2 separate regions of the Homo sapiens genome follow, and region 2 is linked to region 1. Evidence: promoter capture Hi-C in 16 types of primary human blood cells and fetal thymus (Javierre and others, 2016). All regions are on one chromosome and are shown on one strand. Each heading gives the region's core, a stretch centred on a gene start or on the middle of the fragment in contact. The rest is flanking DNA. Distances are from core to core; before and after follow the strand shown.

Region 1 (4,824 bases), core at 1,785-4,284:
AGGTCTGGTGGCAGAACTGATAGCTACATGCTTTCCTGTGTTTTCCCAAAGCACTGAGGAAGAAGTGGTGCAAATGTGAGGTTCTTGGGGAACCCCCATCTATATAAACAAAGCTTATATCCATGGATTGAGATGGCCACTGTCTCAAAGGCAGGTCTATGTTTTGAACCGATACCCAATTCAGAGCCATGAGAGAGACCACAGGATGAATGTGAGGCAAGCCTTATTCTGCTAGGCTTCAGGGAAAACGGAATCCAGGAACTCTCTCGCCCCTGGTTGCTCTCATTCTCCATCATTTATTCTCGCTGCAGTCTGATTTTCTCTAGGTGGTGTGAAGCAGTGTCCTGGCGACTGCTGGGGCCCTCTTTTTAATTTCATCTTTCGATCTCCATTCTTCCATTCTATGAGCACAGAACCTCTGATTTTAGTTGGGTGTGTGTACACCCAGAATGAAGACTTTATTCCCTAGCCTCCCATGCAGCTAAATTTGACCATATAACTAAGTTATAGTCAATGTGAAGTATAACGGGAAGAGATGTGTGCAATTCTAAGTCGTACCCTTAAAGGAAAAGGGAATGTACCCCCCATTCCTCCTTTCCCCCTTCCCACTAGCTGAGATGAAAATATGTTGGAGAGCCAACTTGGACCATGCATATGAGGGTAGGATTCTAAGGATGGGGAGCCACAAGTAGAAGAAGGATGAGTCCCTGGGCAGCCTGTGAAGTCCTACCTGCACTGAACCACCTGCCTCTGAACTGTTACATGAGAGAGACAGCAACTTCAGCCTCTTTTCAGCCACAGTTAATTTGGTTCTGTTACAGCCTGTATTCTTACTACATTAAAATTTCCAAAGCAGTCACGAGCTCACTGAGATTTTAGGAAAGGGGACATAGATGAGGGTTGGGGTGTCAAAAAACTGTGAGGTCATGTTTAAAACACTACAGGAGCTGGTATGGTTTAGTTCTGTGTCCCCACCCAAATCTTATCTTGAATTGTAATCCCTATAATCCTGAGGTCAAGGGAGGGACCCGGTGGGAGGTGATTGGATGGTGGGGGTGGTTTCCCCCATGCTGTTCTCATGGTAGTGAGTGCATTCTCATGAGAAATGATGGTTTTATAGGTGTTTGACAGTTCCTCTTCACATACTCTCTCTCATGCCTGCTGCTGTGTAAGATATGCCTGCTTCCCCTTCTGCCATGATTGTAAGTTTCCTGAGGATTCCCAGCCATGCAGAACTGTGAGTCAATTAAACCTCTTTCCTCCATAAATTACCCAGTCTCAGGAATTTTTTTTTTTTTTTTTTTTTTTTGAGACTGGTTCTCACTCTGTCACCCAGGCTGGAATGCAGAGGTGCAATCTTGGCTCACTACAACCTCCGCCTCCTGGTTTAAGCAATTCTTATGCCTCAGCCTCTCAAGTGGCTGGGATTACAAGCCTGTGCCACCATGCCTGGCTAATTTTTTTGTATTTTTAGTAGAAACTGGGTTTCACCATGTTGGCCAGGCTGGTCTTGAACGCCTGGCCTCAAGTGATCTGCCCGCCTCAGCTTCCCAAAGTGCTGGGATTACAGGCATGAGCCACCGTGCCCAGCCTCAGGTATTCTTTATAGCAGTGTGAGAATCGACTAATGCAGAAGCACACACACACACAGATCAGAGAAAGATTAGTCACATGTGCCTCCTTATGTCCTAGACCATGTCACAGTGTTCTCTTGCGTTACAGTGCCTCTGCAGGTACTGCTCCTTCTGCCTCCCCTTACCCCAACACATACACACAATTGGCCTTCTAACCTTGGCTAAACCTGGCTAAACCTGGCTAACTCAGGGAAATATCTGACCACATTCCAGACTAAGTGAGGCATCTCTGTTATATTAACACGCCCCTCACAGCATGTATTACTGTCTCATAATATTACAGATTTGAAACTTTACATTTATTCCGTATCTTTTTTTACTTAAACAGGTTATTTGATTATCTCTCCCACATCATACGTAGATTCTGTGAGGTCAGGGACTAAGTCTGACTCCTTCACCGCTGTATCCTCAGCACCTAGCACAGTACATGACATACAGAAGGTGCTTGTCAAAGTCAAAATAAAATATGGAGATGAATCTCTAAATGTAATGTTTTATTTGGGGAAGCGAGAATCGCAACTCGGAGCATACACACAGATCTGGTGGTCTTTGGTATGTCCGAAAAACAAAGAGAAGGCTGGGCGTTTTATTAGAAAGGGAAATGCATTGGCACTAGTAAAGTTTCAGGGAGCTGGCAAGCTCTGATTGGTGACTGACAGTGGTAAGTAAAACTAGTATTAGGTTATGGCGGGTTGTTTCAGCAGTTACTAGCTGAATCTGGTCTCAGGGGGACAGCAGGCCATTTCCGCAGCAGTTAGTGGAAATATTGGTTCTTGGAGCAGGCGCTGCGTGCCTCCAGTGCTTTTCCCCTGGCCCCTGGATTCTGATTCCGTTGGGCATAAGAAGAGTGACCCAATTCGTATTATCAACTTTCACATGCTCAATAAGAATGTATGCATGTAAGCTATGGGTGAGTGAATGAATTTGGACAACTCCTCCTCCAGTGAAGAAAAGCAGAACTTACAACCTTGAGCCACTTATAAAATACTAACATACTACCACCACCTGTGCGCTGTCTTCTCAGAACCATGCTCTTCCCAGGATGAGTAACTGTGTGCTTCTAAGTGGAAACCTGATGACAGTCACCCAGTCAGTGACTGGCGGACCCCCTATTATTACTCCCATTCTTTGGGCAGGGAGATGCTTAACCGGCTGGAAGCACAGAGGAAGGGCAGGAGAACGAAGCAAGTCACCCGGCAAACACAGCTGTATCCGGAGGCCTCCGGGCTTCCGGAGGTCTCGGGGCTTCTGGGCTTCCGGTCCCTCTTCCGGAGGCCTGGGTTTCCGGGACGTCGCGCGCCGTGTGGGGCGCGCACGCAGGGCTGGGCGTGAGGGGGCGTGCGCGTGCGCAGGCGACGCGCCGAGGTACTAGGCAGAGCCGTGGAACCGCCGCCAGGTCGCTGTTGGTCCACGCCGCCCGTCGCGCCGCCCGCCCGCTCAGCGTCCGCCGCCGCCATGGGAGTGCAGGTGGAAACCATCTCCCCAGGAGACGGTGAGTAGTGGCGCGCGGCGGCTCGGAGTACCTCTGCCGCCGCGCGCATCGGCTCAGCATGCCCGTCTCTGTCTCCTCAGGGCGCACCTTCCCCAAGCGCGGCCAGACCTGCGTGGTGCACTACACCGGTGAGTCGGGGGCCCAGCGGGGAGGGGGCCCGGGCCGCAGTCCGCAGCCCGGGTGCGGCTGGCCGTCGAGGCCTGGGGGCCCGGGGCCTGGGGTCCGGGGCGTGGCGGCGGCGAGGTCCGCATGGCCCGAGGCTGAGGCCTGGGCGGTGGCTCAGGGGCAGCCTGGGGCTTGCGGAACCCGGGCGGGTCTGAATCGGCGGCTGTGAGCGTCGGCTGCGGGCTAGGTGTTATCTGACCCGTCAGAAGCATTTCTGCACCTTAGATGCTGCCCTTATGCCCGCTGCACAGATGAGGAAACTGAGGCTTGGCGAGGCGAAGTCACTTTCCCAAGGTCTCACTTTCCCAAGGTCACACTTTCAGGAATGGGCAGAGCTCTGGCCAGGGACCATTAGGAAGGATTTGTACCATTTCTGTGCCCCTGCCCCCACTTCCATCCCTCCCTTCACTGGAGATGAGGACGAGGTAATTCCGAGTCTGCAGAGCTGCTGCTTCCTCCGGGGAACTCGGAATTCGCCCCTTTGCCTAGGGTGGGGAAACATCCCACTTCCTAAGTCATTGCTTTGGCCCTTCCTGGCCTTGGGGGAAGTAGAGCTGCACGGCCTTCTTCCGTCTTTTTACTTTTGAGCCACTTACAAATCCAAGGCTCAGTGACAGCGCTGGCTCAGGCTGACCGAAAGCTGCACGTGTAATTTAGTCCCCCAGCTCTTCTAGAAGTAGAGACTTTTCTCGTCCTCATTTTAAAGATAAGCATCTGGAGGCTAATACATAGTGATAATACAAGCCAAAGGAAATTTTAGACACCTCCCCCTCCCCAGCCAGAATTCAGACATCAGAGTCGTGTGCCTTGGGGCTGTCTTACTCCTTCTCCTTACAAGCTTGTCCTGGTTTGTATGGGGGCGGGGGAGGGGGAGAGCTGAGTTGGCGGAGACTCAGTGGCTGTGGGTCCCACAAGGGTGGCAGTGATTGGTGTAGCCACAGTTGTTGATACGAATAACCTTCCCTCCCCCTCCTCCTTCCCCTTTCTCAACCTTCCCACCCTTTCCTCTGTTCCCCCTCCTCCTCCCTCTTTTTTTCCCACTCCCTCTCCTCCTCTTCCTCCTCCTGGGTAGTAGGCTGTGGGCAGTTCTGGCCAAGTTGCTCACGAATAAGCTCCACCTTTCTCTTCCAAATCATGGAAACATGGAGGGATCCCTCTATTGAGGGAAATGACTTTCACTGGAAAGAGGAAAAGGCAACTAACATCCCCCCTCCCATGCCCTTTTATTTCTGTGGCCCTTCCCCGTGGGTAGAAATGGGGGCAGGAGGTAGAAGTTAAGGACTAGAACTTTAAAAATTCTGCCAAAGGAGGAGTTACTGAAACCCATCTTTCTGGGGAGCAGGCAGTCTCATGTCCGTGAAGGAAGCTGGAAAGTGCTTTTGATGTTTTAGATAGCTGTCCTTGTAGGCCACAGTCAGCACCTGAGCCTGGGAGGTCTGGTAGATGAAAGCGCATCCTTTTGGTGATTTGTCATCGGAAGGATGAGGAGAGTAACCATTTACAGTGCTGGGGTGAGTGGGCAGTTCATTCAGT
Region 2 (4,824 bases), core at 1,383-3,882, 120 kb after region 1:
TAAAACTTTACATCTGAGGTCACAGACGGATGGCCGGTCACATACACATTTTAATATGTGCATTTAAAAATATTGCCTAATCAGCTACATTTTAAAAATTAGGAGATGTCACAAACAAATATGCAGATTTCTGTCTTATAAATCAGAAGATCTGACAACATTGGGCACATGTTCTTGTAGGCAAGAATGGTGAGAGCAGGATAGCAGCTGCCTCTTTCAAGCAAGCACTTTCCAATGTGCTACAATCCCCAAACAGCCCAACTGGCCTGTTTTACCTTTGTAGACAACTACATTTGACATCCCTTGCTTAACATATTTCATTTTGGTGTAAAGTCTTCCTAATGACCTTAGGAGACAACATCATTTCCCAGTTTTACAGGTGAGGAAACAGAAGCTCTGAGGGAAAAAAATAACTGGGCCAAAATTCAAACCCCAGCAGCCCAATTGCAGAGCCAAACACGAGAACACGAGTCTGTGGCAAAAATGAGGAAAATACAGACAATGCAGTGAGTTTTTAACAAAGCAAAATGTATTCAATTTGAAGGAATACCATTTTCCCCCTGATAACATGGCCTTCTTACTTGGGGGAATAGAAATATTAAAATGTTCTTTCTCTTATTTTATGATAGTGATGGTAAAGAGGACCCTAAGTGTCATCTGAATGTCCTCGTCTGGTAAAATAAAAAGCTAGCTAACCGAGGATGGATTCCCAAATGCACTGGTCTTTGTGAAATCTAAGTCCAAGACCCACTGCTCTGCTACAGACTTCCTGTCCCAGTATGACAGCAATCTTCTGTTACTCCTCTTGGTTAAAACAAAAAAACAAAAACTCATAACTTCATCTAACCATGTCTGCATCATTCTATTTTTGAAGAGGTGGCTTTTGAACTGAGTCTTTCCCAACCCCTCTCCCTCCAGCAAATCCACAAAGCATTTGTTCATGCCTTTTGTTATATTTATCTTATTCTTCCTCAAGTAACAATTATATGTATCCTATCCACCCTTTTACCCCCTAAAGTCATTACAGAACAGAAGAAAGACACTTTGGGAGGCCAAGGCAGATGGATTGCCTGAGGTCAGGAGTTCGAGACCAGCCTGGCTAACATGGTGAAACCCCCTCTCTACTAAAAATACAAAAATTTTCTGGGCATGGTGGCGCATGCCTATAGTCCCAGCTACTCAGGAGGCTGAGGAAGGAGAATCATTTGAACCCGGGAGGCAGAGGTTGCAGTGAGCCAAGATCATGCCACTGAACTCCAGCCTAGGTGACAGAGTAAGACTCTGCCTCCAAAAAACAAAAAGAAGAAGAAGAAGAAAGAGTTTCTGAATTGTTAGCCACTCAGAGCTAGAAGGGCTCTTAGATATCATCACCTCTGACTCCCATTTTGCAGGTGTGGAAAAGCAAAGGGTCTGACCTAAGGCCACCCAGTGGGTCAACGGCAGAGCTGGGGTGAGGACCCAAGTCTACTGACTCCTCGGTGCTGGCTCTTCCTGCTGTGCCAGGCTGCTTTCCAGCCACTCCCTTTTGGTTGGCTCAGCCCCTCAATTCAGAGGACAGTGCTGAGTATGCGACAAACACGTCATAAATATCTGTCCATTAATGCAAAGCAGCCTGGGGTGCACAGGCCTCAGCCTCTCCATGGCCCTTGGCTTGAGCTTCACATCACCTGCATCGAGACTTCCCACAGCACCAGCTGCCCATCAAATGGAGAACTGGCACCTGGGGCTTCTGGTGGCCTAGATGTAGAAAGACCCCATGTGGCTTAGAAATGCAATCCCCGTTAGGCCAGAGTTATGAACCAAGCCCTGCTGAGTAATCTTAGGCAAATGACTTCACCTCTCAGGTGTTAGGCGTTCCTCCAGACAGGTGGGATGCCTAGAATAGACATGAAGAAGAATTCCCCAAGCCTATCAGATGATTATAGGCACAAGACAGTCTTTGTCAGAGGAATTTCAAAATCCTGCTTCTAGAAGGCTTTAAGGACAGGAAAGGTTCTGGTCTACCTGGGACAAACAGATAGTTCCATCAAAATTGTGTTACAGCGTGAGCTTGGATAGTCCCCTAGACTCCATGTCCACCTTCTAGATTGATGAGGACAGGAGCCAACAAGTCTTTAGGGCTGTTTGGAAACATTCTAAATCGAGTAGAACCCTTTACTATTATTATTAAATTATTATTCACAAGCTCAATGCCAAAAATAGAGATGACAATGGCATCATCTCTCTAAAGCCTTCCTGACCCACTCAGTAGGAAAGATCATTCCCCTCTCTCTGTCCCCCCACCCCATCACACACATATCAGTATGTCTTATAGCTTCCAGATGTTTTCTCATATCTACACGTTTAGGTGTCTGTCTCCCTCTGTTAGATATGAGCTTCTTGAAACTAGGACTCACAATTTACTCTTTCCTGCATGCTATGCACTTAGCCCAGGGCCTAGCTAATAAATAAGGACAAATGCTGGTCAATGTTTAGCAAGTTAAGGAATCCCCTCCACCTCCAATACTGGAACAAGGGTGCATGTAGGCCTTTCGGAGCCAGTAGATGCATGCAGATCATTTGAGGGATGGGAACTCTTGGAGGGAAACTGGCTGACCCAAGGTTATTCAGTTATTGAGAGGGCTCAGACTAAAAGCAACCCTTTGGACACCCAGTCCAGTGCACTTCCAGCTAAACATTTTCTAGGTTCTATGATACACTGGTTGTACGACTCTGGGTAAGACCCTTCGCCTCTCTGCCCTGGCTTTCTCACTTATAAAAATGGGTAAATTTATATATAGTGCCTACATAATGGGATGATCTGAGCAGTAAATTATTGAACCTGTGTAAAACAGAGCACAACACATAAGAAGACTAAAAAAGTGTGTCTGTCCTGACTGTCATTCAGGCCTAACCATTATCCTCGGTAAAGGGGCATCCACCAAACATCAGCAAAGCAGGGCTCACGGTGAAAGGAAAACTCTCCATTCCTGGTTCACACAGTTTTCAACCAGGAAGTACCCTGCACCAATCACCTGGGAGAAATGCCTGATCTCTCACCGTAAATTGTTCACAGCTTCTTCTTCTCCAAACCCCTGTTCCCACCTGCAAGTGCACACACAGCTCACAGCATCAGCAAGGTATGCATGAAGAGGCAGCGAAACCTTTGGAAGGGGACGATGCAGACAGACCTGGTGTCGGATAGCAGTTCTAGCCGCGCAACCCTCAGCAAGTCACTTAGTCTCTCCAAGCCTCAGTCTCCCCATCTTTGAAATGGTCATAATTTTCTTTAAGGATTACCTGAGACAGTTAATGGTCTGGGACTTCATAAATGACGTTGAGGGTAATCATAGTTGTCTGATTTTTATTTAACAAAATCCACTCGACAGAATGTCAGAAGCAGAAGGGGTCTTAGAAATCACTTAGTCCAGTCCCATCATTATATAGATGGGCACACAGAGGCCTTGAGGGGAGGCCTGACTGGCCCAAGGTCACATAATAAGGCAGTGGTTCAATGGGACATGGGACCTGGGTCTCCTGACTTTCTACTGCATATCCATGTTGTCCCACTTGATTCTAATTACCTGCTCTCCTCCCTCAAACACAGAAAATGGCTAGAATCATTCCCTTCCCAATCCTCCTCCCTTCACAGTCATCTCACACCAGCTGGCACCATCTGGATCCCTTTTTGCCAACATCACCACCCTCCCAGGCACATCTGGCCCCTTTTGGTCTAGTCAGGAGCCCTAGAGGAGTAGGCGAAGCATCTGTTAATCACCAACAATAGCAATAATAACAGTAGCTGTAATAGCAATAATAATGACAACCAACAACCTGGACGATGTCCTACACTAAAAAGGGCTTTCACCTACATAATCAACACATTCCTACAGTTTCTCCCTAACCTAGTTGGCTTAGGGACATAATTTCCTCAAGTTTGTTTCATTCAACACTTACGGAGCACCTACTTTGGGCCTACTCATGGGCCAGAGGCTGGAGATAGAGAAAGGAAAATGATAGGGCCTCTGCCAAATAGGAATTTAGGGTGGGGGTGGGGGGACATGACAACTTCTTTTGGCCCAAATGGTGCAGCAGCAAAATTCCCCACCCAACCCTATGGAGAACCTCCTTTATCATGCTGTCAAAAGGCAGGAGGTATCTGGAATAAAGAGGAGCGAGAAAGGCTTGAGTGCTAGGCTGAAAATGACAGCAGGAAGGAAGATAAAGAATCGAAAATACAAGCACCAAAAACTTGACTGCCTGGCCTCAGGGTGACTCTAGGGAGACACTCCAGGGAGGGCAAGAGAGCCACAGTGGGATTCATGTGAGATCCGGAAGACCTGATCCCTGCCCTGCTGCCAGCACACAAGAATCTGCTGCTTCTGTTCCCTCAGAGACTCCGCCCTTGGATGCCAGGATTTTCCAAACCCAATGCTGGGCTACAGTCCTCCTTGGGACCATCATTTGCTAGAATGATGTCACAACCTTTGCAGTGGAAATGTTGCTGCCTGCCTAGGCCCTCAGCCTGGTGACCCAATACACTTCAGCATTCATTACCCCTGGCAGGGACACCATCTGCAGGGGTGTGGAAGAGACAGGCAGGGGATGGGGAGGAGAACAGGACTAAAAGCAGTCACCTCTTCCTCTCTTCCCCCAGCCTATCTCCCAAGTCCTGAGTTCCTGAGAACCTACTATGTGCCAGGCACAGGCACTATTTTAGGTGCTTCCACATACATCTCATTTAATTTTCACATCAGCCCTCTGCGGGCTGTACCCCTAGATTTACAGATGGAGAAACTGAGGCTGGGGGAAGGGAAGTCACTTGGCAGCTCAGGGATGTCAACA

What was found. The method cuts DNA at HindIII sites, captures the fragments that hold promoters and counts their contacts. A CHiCAGO score of 5 or more calls a contact.
Region 2: a fragment that was not itself captured here is called in contact with the fragment with the promoter of FKBP1A in region 1 in 1 of 17 cell types (naive CD4 T cells); the score reaches 5.8 in naive CD4 T cells.

The regions. Positions count from the first base shown.
Region 1 is chr20:1,391,264-1,396,087 of GRCh38, reverse strand. FKBP1A (FKBP prolyl isomerase 1A) reads left to right here and starts at 3,034. Exons shown (of 5, transcript NM_000801.5): 1 at 3,034-3,126; 2 at 3,207-3,254. The coding sequence starts at 3,090. FKBP1A-SDCBP2 (FKBP1A-SDCBP2 readthrough (NMD candidate)) reads left to right here and starts at 2,916. Exons shown (of 10, transcript NR_037661.1): 1 at 2,916-3,126; 2 at 3,207-3,254. MIR6869 (microRNA 6869) reads left to right here and starts at 3,127; the gene lies at 3,127-3,188. RefSeq lists silencers at 2,978-3,027, 3,228-3,327, 3,338-3,407 and enhancers at 3,142-3,642, 4,434-4,824. The HindIII fragment of the contact is 4,016 bases long and covers 116-4,131 here.
Region 2 is chr20:1,267,824-1,272,647 of GRCh38, reverse strand. All of the region lies in intron 2 of SNPH (syntaphilin), which reads right to left. Among named protein-coding and RNA genes, the nearest start is that of SNPH, 3.9 kb to the right of the region's middle. The HindIII fragment of the contact is 5,874 bases long and covers 1-4,824 here.